3 separate regions of the Homo sapiens genome follow, and regions 2 and 3 are each linked to region 1. Evidence: promoter capture Hi-C in 16 types of primary human blood cells and fetal thymus (Javierre and others, 2016). All regions are on one chromosome and are shown on one strand. The core of a region is centred on a gene start or on the middle of the fragment in contact, and the rest is flanking DNA. Distances in the headings are between cores, read along the strand shown.

Region 1 (2,700 bases), core at 123-2,622:
TCGGAGCTGGTTGACAGGGCTGCGAACCTGCACCCTGGGCAACGGGAAAAACCGCACAGGGCTTAAAAATGACGGATATGGACAGCGCACGAACCCGCTCTAACGTCTATCCGCTTTTACACCCCCAATCTTTAGGCCCGAGGGGACGAAAAATACGTATGCCCACAGGGTGGAGTCAGCACTGACCCCGTCCTTAACTTCCTACTGTGGTCTTCGCAGTGCCGCGAGCTCTATTTCGATCCGGCACGTCGAATACAAAATAGAACCCGCACGTTCCAATGTACTGTGCAAGCCCAGGCGAGTGAGCTGGGAGAAGGGGGGCAAGACTAATTACCAGGGTTCCTGCAAACCGAGAACAACCCCCAAAACCGCGACCGAAGCGCCATCGCTGAGACGATCTCGGAAAAGCCTCGCCTCTTTTTCCTCACGGACGACTCAGTCGCTCGCCAGGAGCAGCCATATAAAGTCAGGGACAAGCCTTTGGCTGCTGTAGATCCCCAAACTCTCCACGCCAGACGCCACCGACCCGGAAGTAGCAAGTCCCCTGCCACTGAGTGGCCGAGAAGGCGATCTGTTATCCTTCATCGCCAATCATCGCTCACGTCGAGGGGCACGCAGGCCCTGGAGCCCACCAACCACCTCGTAGCTACGCCCAAGACCACGCTTGTTGCTTAAGTCCGGGGTCAAAGGCACACACCCCACAAAACCATGTTTGGGTTTTCTACTCGGAGAGCTTGGGCGGTCATCGACTGGTCCACACACACCCCACCTGGGCACCGCGTAGGAATAAGGCAGGGCAAGATGCAGTTTTCTCCTTAAAAAGGGTGGTTGTCTTCCTCGAACCAAAAATTTTCCCGTATGGCCCGCTGGAAAAACTGCCCCGTCCCACCCAGGTTCGCGCCCTTAAACTTACACTCCTGAGGCCTGGAGCAAAGCCGGCCGATCTGCCTCACGCTCCCCGAGCAGGGACAAGGAAAAGACACTAAACCTAAAACGCACGACTCGCTCAGAACCCCAACTCTAACTTGGAGAAGGGCCCGCCCCTCCAGTTACACCCCAGCTCCAAGCTCCACCCTTCTTACAACCTTTTCTAGAAGGCACTAGAATGGCCCACTGCGTCTGCGCAACATCGTTTGAGGCGAAGGTTCAACCTCTTCCCAGCGGTCCAACATCCGACTTCCGTTCTCCGCTTTCGCGCCCTTCCCATCGGCTATCTAATTGGACAAAAATGCCGACCCCGCCCCTTCCCCGGAGCCTCACTTCCGTCACAGTCCTGTTTCTCTCCCTGTTGTCCCTGCCTCTTTTTCCTTCCCGCCGTGCCCCGCGGCCGGGCCGGGGCAGCCGGGAAGCGGGTGGGGTGGTGTGTTACCCAGTAGCTCCTGGGACATCGCTCGGGTACGCTCCACGCCGTCGCAGCCACTGCTGTGGTCGCCGGTCGGCCGAGGGGCCGCGATACTGGTTGCCCGCGGTGTAAGCAGAATTCGACGTGTATCGCTGCCGTCAAGATGGAGGGGCCTTTGTCCGTGTTCGGTGACCGCAGCACTGGGGAAACGATCCGCTCCCAAAACGGTAAGGGCGGGCCGGGCCTGGGTCGGGTTTGCGGCCGGGGAGGGCCGAGTCCCACCGCGACCGGACCCCGGCTGCCCTCGTTTCTCTCCTTTACCTCCGCAGAAAGGGCCTCGGGGCCCCGCAGCCGGACCCAGCCCACCCGCCGTTCTCTGGGGCAGGGCGCTGTGGCCCCACTTTTCCCACAGCGAGGAGGAGCCCCGCCGCGCGCGGCAGGGTTTTGAGACCGGCAACGCGTGGATGTGGTGTCCGGGGCGGCGTTGGAAACGCGCCCTCCGCGGGAAAGCGGGCCTCCCGGGCTCGCACGTGCGGGCCACGCCTCGCACCCCCTTTTGTTTCAGGGCGACCCCCTGAGTGTCCATGTTAAACGCCAGGTTTTATTTTAGGACCATTTACCAGAAAAAGAGTAGGTCCATCCGCGCGCCCTCGGATGAGCCCGGTGCCCTGTCCGCCCGCAGCTGCAGTCGAGGTCGGGCGTCCGGCGTCCAGCCGTATCCGGGTTGACAGCTTCTTACAGTAGAGTTAGCCCAGGAAACGCCACTCGAGTGCATTGACCCCAGGAGACGGCAGCGCTAACTTAGCAGAGCGTTTGCTGTCAGGCCTTTGGATACCTACAGAGCTTACTGTTTCTTGATAGATTCCTAATTTTTTTCGTAAACAAATCTGAAAGTCACCACCTTCCCCGTTGACTACCGATTTCTCTCCTCACAGATAAAGAGAGTTTTAATGAGCAAAAAACTTGCAGAATCTGAAGGAAAAGGCTGGTATAGCTGTACGAAGTGGCAGAGCATGAAATTGGTGGTTATTACTTTTTTTTTTTTTCCCCGCCATCAGATTCCACCCCGCATCAAAGCTGTGCCAAATAGGCTCGCTTTGTTTAGGGACAGGGTCCCACCTGTCGCCCAGACGAGAGTGCCATCATAGCTCACTGCATTCTCCAAGCACAGGTCCGCGCCGCCGCATCCGGCTTTGTTTTTATTTTTTGTAGAAATGGGTTTCGCTATGTTGCCCAAAGGGGTCTCAAACTCCTGGCATCAAGCGATCCTCCTGCCTCGGCCTCGCAGTGTTGGGATTACACCTGTGAGCCACAGTGTCTGGCCCCATTTACACTCTTAGTAGGTGGTTTTTAAATAA
Region 2 (2,700 bases), core at 184-2,683, 210 kb before region 1:
TAACACTGTTCCTTAGTGAGTACATTACCTCAAGTTAAATGGGCTGGTAACAGGCTTCCTGAAATGGATATAGAGCTGTAATCCTCAGAAGATTAATTAAAATCATAATATTAATATTTGATGTGTTAGAAAAAAATGTGAATGTATTTGGTATTTTTACTGCAATGTTTAATATAACTCCAATCCAAAGTTTATAACTCAGCAATTAATTCAGACTTACGACACAGTATTAGAACATTTAAGAGAATTTTAGAATTAGAAATTTTAGAATTTTAGCATAACTAGTAAATATATAAGAATTATTAAATAATAATACTCATAAATTTATAATTATTGTTACACTGAAATTTTAACTGTTAAGCCAGACATCTGAGGTACTTGAAAAGGAAATCAAATGCAGTTGAACTGCAAAGGTCTGAACTTCCCAGGTCCACTTATACACAGATTTTCTTTCACCTCGGTAACCCCAGAACAACAAGACCAGTCCCTCCTCTTCCTCCTCCTACTCAGCCTACGCAACATGAAGACAATAAGGACGAAGATCTTTATATGATGATCCACTGCCGCTCAATGAATAATAAACATAATTTTCTCTTCCTTATCATTTGTTTTTTCCTGAGACAAGCTCTCACTACTCTCTTACCTAGGCAGGAGTACAGTGGCCTGATTACAGCTCATTGAGGCCTCCACCTCCTGGGCTCAAGCAATCCTCCTGCCTCAGCCTCCCAAGTAGTTGGGACTACAGGCATGCACCACCATGCCTGGCTAATTTTTTTATTTTTTGCAGAGATGGGGTTCCACTATGTTGTCCAAGCTGGTCTCAAACTTCTGGGCTCAAGTGATCCTCCCACCTCAGCCTCCCAAAGTGCTGTGATTACAGGTGTGAGCCACCACACCCGGCCTGATTTTCTTAATATTTTCTTTCCTTTAGCTTACTTTATTGTAAGAATATAGTACTTAATACATATAACATGCAAAATATGTGTTGATCGACTATTTATGTTTCTGGTAAAGCTTCCCATCAACAGCAGGCTATTAGCAGCTAAGGTTAGAGGGAGTGAAATGTTAAATGTGGATTTTCAACTGTGCAGGGGGTTGGTGCCCCTAACTCTAGCGTTGTTCAAGGGTCAAATGCATATAAAATGTATAAACCACTTTAAAATGTGAAAATAATTAGGTTGCAAATGGGACCAAATATTGTTCACAGGCCCTATGAAAATGATGGCTAACATTTGCTAAGATTCACATATGTAATATTGTTTGCCTAAGGAAAAACTAATGTATGATTTTTTTAATTTCTTCTGAGCTCCTTGGATGTGTGGATAATGTATGATTCCTCAATTTAAAATAATGTAATATTGTTTAAACCAGCATTGAGGTCTTAATATTTGTTTCTCACTATAAAAAATTTTAGGGCAGCAGCCCCCAACCTTGTTGGCACCAGAGACTGGTTTCATGAAAGACAGTTTTTCCATGGACTTGGACTGGGGGTGGGATGGTTTCGGGATGATTCAAGCATATTACATTTATTGTACCCTTTATTTCTATTATTATTACATTGTAATATGTAATTGAAATAATTATACAACACACCACAGTGCAGAATCAGTGGAAGCCCCGAGCTTGTTTTCATGCAACTAGATGGTCCCATCTGGGGGTGATGGGAGACACTGACAAATCATCAGGCACTAGATTCTCATAAGGGGTCACAACCTAGATCCCTTGCATGTGCAGTTCACAATAGGGTTCGCGCTCCTATAAGCATCTACTGCTGCCACTTATCTAACAGGATGCAGAGCTCAGGCAGTAGTGCAAGCAATGGGGAGCGGCTGTAAATACAGACGAAGCTTCACTCTGTCACCCACCACTCACCTCCTGCTGTGCAGCCCAGCTCCTAACAGGCTACAAACCGCTACCAGTCTGTGGCCCGGGGGTTGAGGACCCCTGCTTCAGGGCACTTTAAAACTCATACCAGGCCAGGCGTGGTGGCTCACACCTGTAATCCCAGCACTTTGGGGGGCCAAGGCGGGTGGATCACTTGAGGTCAGGAGTTCAAGACCAGCCTGGCCAACATGGTGAAACCCCATCTCTACTAAAAATACAAAAAAAAAATTAGCCGGACATGGTGGTGCCCGTAATCCAAGCTACTCAGGAGGCTGAAGCAGGAGAATCGCTTAAACCCAGGGGGCGGAGGATGCAGTGAGCCAAGATGGCGCCACTGCACTCCGGCCTGGGCAACAGAGCAAGATTCTGTCTCAAAAAAAAAAAAAAAAAAAAAAAAACAACCTCACACCAACTATTATCTTCCCAAAAGGATTTAGAGACAACCGTCTTCCTACAGCAACGTATAAATAAATGTGCCCATTTCCAGGCTCCTTGCCAGCACTCTATGATTCAACCATTTAAATTTCTGCCAACTTCTCAAAGAAAAATGAGATCTCATAATTGCTCTGATTTGCATTTATACCTGGTGATGCGGCTTAGCTCTGTCTCGCCACCCAAATCTCATGATGAATTGTGATCCCGAGTGTTGGAGGTGGGGCCTGGTGGGAGGTAACTGGATCACGGGGCTGGTTTCCAATGGTGTAGCACCATCCCCAAGTGCTGTCTCGTGATAAGAGTTCTCACTAGATGTGCTTGTTTGAAAGTGTGTAGCACCGCCCCACTCCTCTCCTGTCACCATGTGAAGAAGCTGCCTGC
Region 3 (2,700 bases), core at 4-2,503, 230 kb before region 1:
TTGTTACATATGTATACATGTGCCATGTTGGTGTGCTGAACCCATTAACTCGTCATTTAGCATTAGGTATATCTCCTAATGCTATCCCTCCCCCCGCCCCCCACCCCACAACAGTCCCAGGTGTGTGATGTTCCCCTTCCTGTGTCCATGTGTTCTCATTGTTCAATTCCCACCTATGAGTGAGAACATACGATGTTTGGTTTTTTATCCTTGCGACAGTTTGCTGAGAATGATGGTTTCCAGTTTCATTCATGTCCCTACAAAGGACATGAACTCATCATTTTTATGGCTGCATAGTATTCCATGTGGTTTTATAATAATTTGTATATTTCTCTGATGATTAGTGATGTGGAGTATGTTTAGGAGATTCTTGGCCATTTGTATGTCTTCTTTAGAGAAATGTTTGTTCACGTCCTTTGCTCACTTCTTAAAGGGATTGTGGTTTTTCTTGTTGAGTTGTCTGCATTCTTTGTAGATTCTGAATATCAATCCTTTGTTGAATGTAGAGTTTAAAAACACTTTTGGCCATTTTGTATGTTGTCTGTTCACTCTGCTGACTATGTATTTTGCTGTGCAGAAGTTTTTAAGTTTAATAAAGTCCCATTTCTCTATTTTTATTTTTGTTGCATTTGCTTTTGAAGTCTTAGTCATGAATTCTTTGCCTAGGCGAAGATCCGAGAGAGCTTTTCCTGGGTTTTCTTCTGGGAATTTTATAGTTTCAGGCAGGCCTTACATTCAAGTCGCTAATCCGACCTGAGTTAATTTTTATATGTGGTAAGAGATAGGGGTCCAGTTTCATTCTTCCGCATATGGCTGTCCAGTTTTCCCAGAACCATTTACTAAATAGGGTGTCCTTTCCCCAGTGTATGTTTTTGTCAACTGTGTCAAAGATCAGTTGGTTGTAAGTATGCAGCTTTGACTCTGGGTTTTCTATTCTGTTCCATTAATCTGTGTGTCTATTTTTCTATCAGTACTAGCTGTTTTGATTACTATAGCCCTCCAGTAAAATCTGTAGGTGGGTATTGTGATGCCTCTAGCTTTGTTCATTTTCCTTAAGATTGGTTTGGCTATTAAGATTTTTTGGGGGACCACATGAATTTTAGGACTTTTTCTAATTCCATAAAAAATGACGTTGGCATTTTGATAGGAATTGCATTGAATCTGTGGATTGTTTCGGGCAATATAATCATTTTAATGATATTGATTCTTCCAATTCATGAACATGGGATGTTTTCCCACTTCTGCTATCTACAATTTCTTTCATCAGTGTTTTACAGTTTTCCTTGTAGAGATTTTTCACCTCCTTGGCTAAATGTATTTCTAGTGGGTTTTTTTTTTTTAGTGATTATAAATGGGATTGACTTCTTGATTTGATTCTCAGCTTGATCATTACTGGTGTGTAGAAATGTTATTGATTCTTGTACAATGACTCTGTATCCTGAAACTACTGAATTCACGTATCAAATCTAAGAGACTTTTGGAGGAAACTTTAGAGTTTTCTAGGTATAAGATCATATCATCAGCACACAGAGACACGTTGACTGTCTCTTTTCTGATCTGGATGCGTTTTCTTTCTCTTGCCTGACTGCCCCAGGTAGGACTTCCAGTACTATGTTGAATAGGAGAGATGAAAAAGTGGGCATCATTGTCTTGTTCCACTTCTTAGGGGAAATGCTTTCAACTTTTCCCTGTTCAGTACGATGCTGGCTGTGGTTCTGTCGTATATGCCTTTTATTATTCTGAGGTATGTCCCTTCTAATATTTTTTGAGTGTTGTCTTTTCATTAAGGGATGTTGAATTTCATCAAATGCTTTTTCTGTATCTCCTGAGATGGTCAGACTTTTTTTTAAATTGTTTAAATGGTGAATCACATTTATTGATTTGCATACACTGAACCATCCTTGCAACCCTGGAATAAAACCCACTTGATCGTGATGTATTATTTTTCTGAAGTGCTGTTACATTCAGTTTGCTAGTATTTTGTTGAGATTTTTGAATCTGTTTATCATAGATATTGGCCTCTAGTTTTCTTTCTTTGTTGTGTGCTTGTTTGGCTTTGGTTATCAGGATAATATTGGCTTCAAATAATGAGTTAGGGAGGATTCCCTCCTCTGATTTTTGGTAACAGTTTCAGTAGGATTTGTGCTAGTTCTTCCCTGTGCCTCTGGGAGAATTCAGCTGTCAATCTGTCTGGTCCTGAGCTTTTTTTGTTGGGAGGTTTTTGTTTTGTTTTGTTTTGTTTGTTTTGTTTTTCTTAAATTACTGATTCAATCCCAATACTTGTTATTGGTCTTTTTGGAATTTCTATTTCTTCCTGGTTGAATCTCAGGAACTTGAATGTTTCCAGAAATGTACACATTTCCTCTAAATTTTCTCAGTTGTGAGTACACAGATGTTCACAGAAGTCTCTTATGATCTTTTTTGTGGTATCAGCTGTAATGTCTACTTTCTTATTTCTGATTGAATCCTCTCTCTTCTGGTTAATCTGACCAACAGTCTATGAATATTATCTTTCCAAAGAACCAACTTCTCATTTTTTTTATCCTTTGTACTGCATTTTTTGGTCTCCATTTCATTTAGTTCTGCTCTGGTATTTGTTACTTCTGTTCTGCTAGGTTTCAATTTGGTTTTTTCTTTTTTTTCTAGTTCCTTGAAGTGTGATATTAGGTTGTTAATTTGTGATCTCTATTTTTGATGTAG

Evidence for each region. Contacts are between HindIII fragments. The CHiCAGO score rates a contact against its expected background, and 5 or more counts as called.
Region 2: a contact is called between a fragment that was not itself captured here and the fragment with the promoter of TCP1 in region 1, in 1 of 17 cell types (neutrophils). The highest score is 5.4, in neutrophils.
Region 3: a contact is called between a fragment that was not itself captured here and the fragment with the promoter of TCP1 in region 1, in 1 of 17 cell types (neutrophils). The highest score is 6.8, in neutrophils.

Annotation. Positions count from the first base shown.
Region 1 is chr6:159,788,274-159,790,973 of GRCh38, reverse strand. TCP1 (t-complex 1) reads left to right here and starts at 1,372. Exons shown (of 12, transcript NM_030752.3): 1 at 1,372-1,569. The coding sequence starts at 1,506. It overlaps MRPL18 (mitochondrial ribosomal protein L18), which reads right to left and starts at 507. Exons shown (of 4, transcript NM_014161.5): 1 at 335-507; 2 at 1-34. The coding sequence starts at 386. RefSeq lists enhancers at 320-379, 410-589, 846-1,509, 1,510-2,174. The HindIII fragment of the contact is 4,019 bases long and covers 1-2,700 here.
Region 2 is chr6:160,000,311-160,003,010 of GRCh38, reverse strand. The region is part of intron 2 of IGF2R (insulin like growth factor 2 receptor); the gene reads right to left. Among named protein-coding and RNA genes, the nearest start is that of AIRN, 6.0 kb to the left of the region's middle. The HindIII fragment of the contact is 833 bases long and covers 1,017-1,849 here.
Region 3 is chr6:160,018,851-160,021,550 of GRCh38, reverse strand. All of the region lies in intron 4 of IGF2R (insulin like growth factor 2 receptor), which reads right to left. Among named protein-coding and RNA genes, the nearest start is that of AIRN, 13 kb to the right of the region's middle. The HindIII fragment of the contact is 6,450 bases long and covers 1-2,700 here.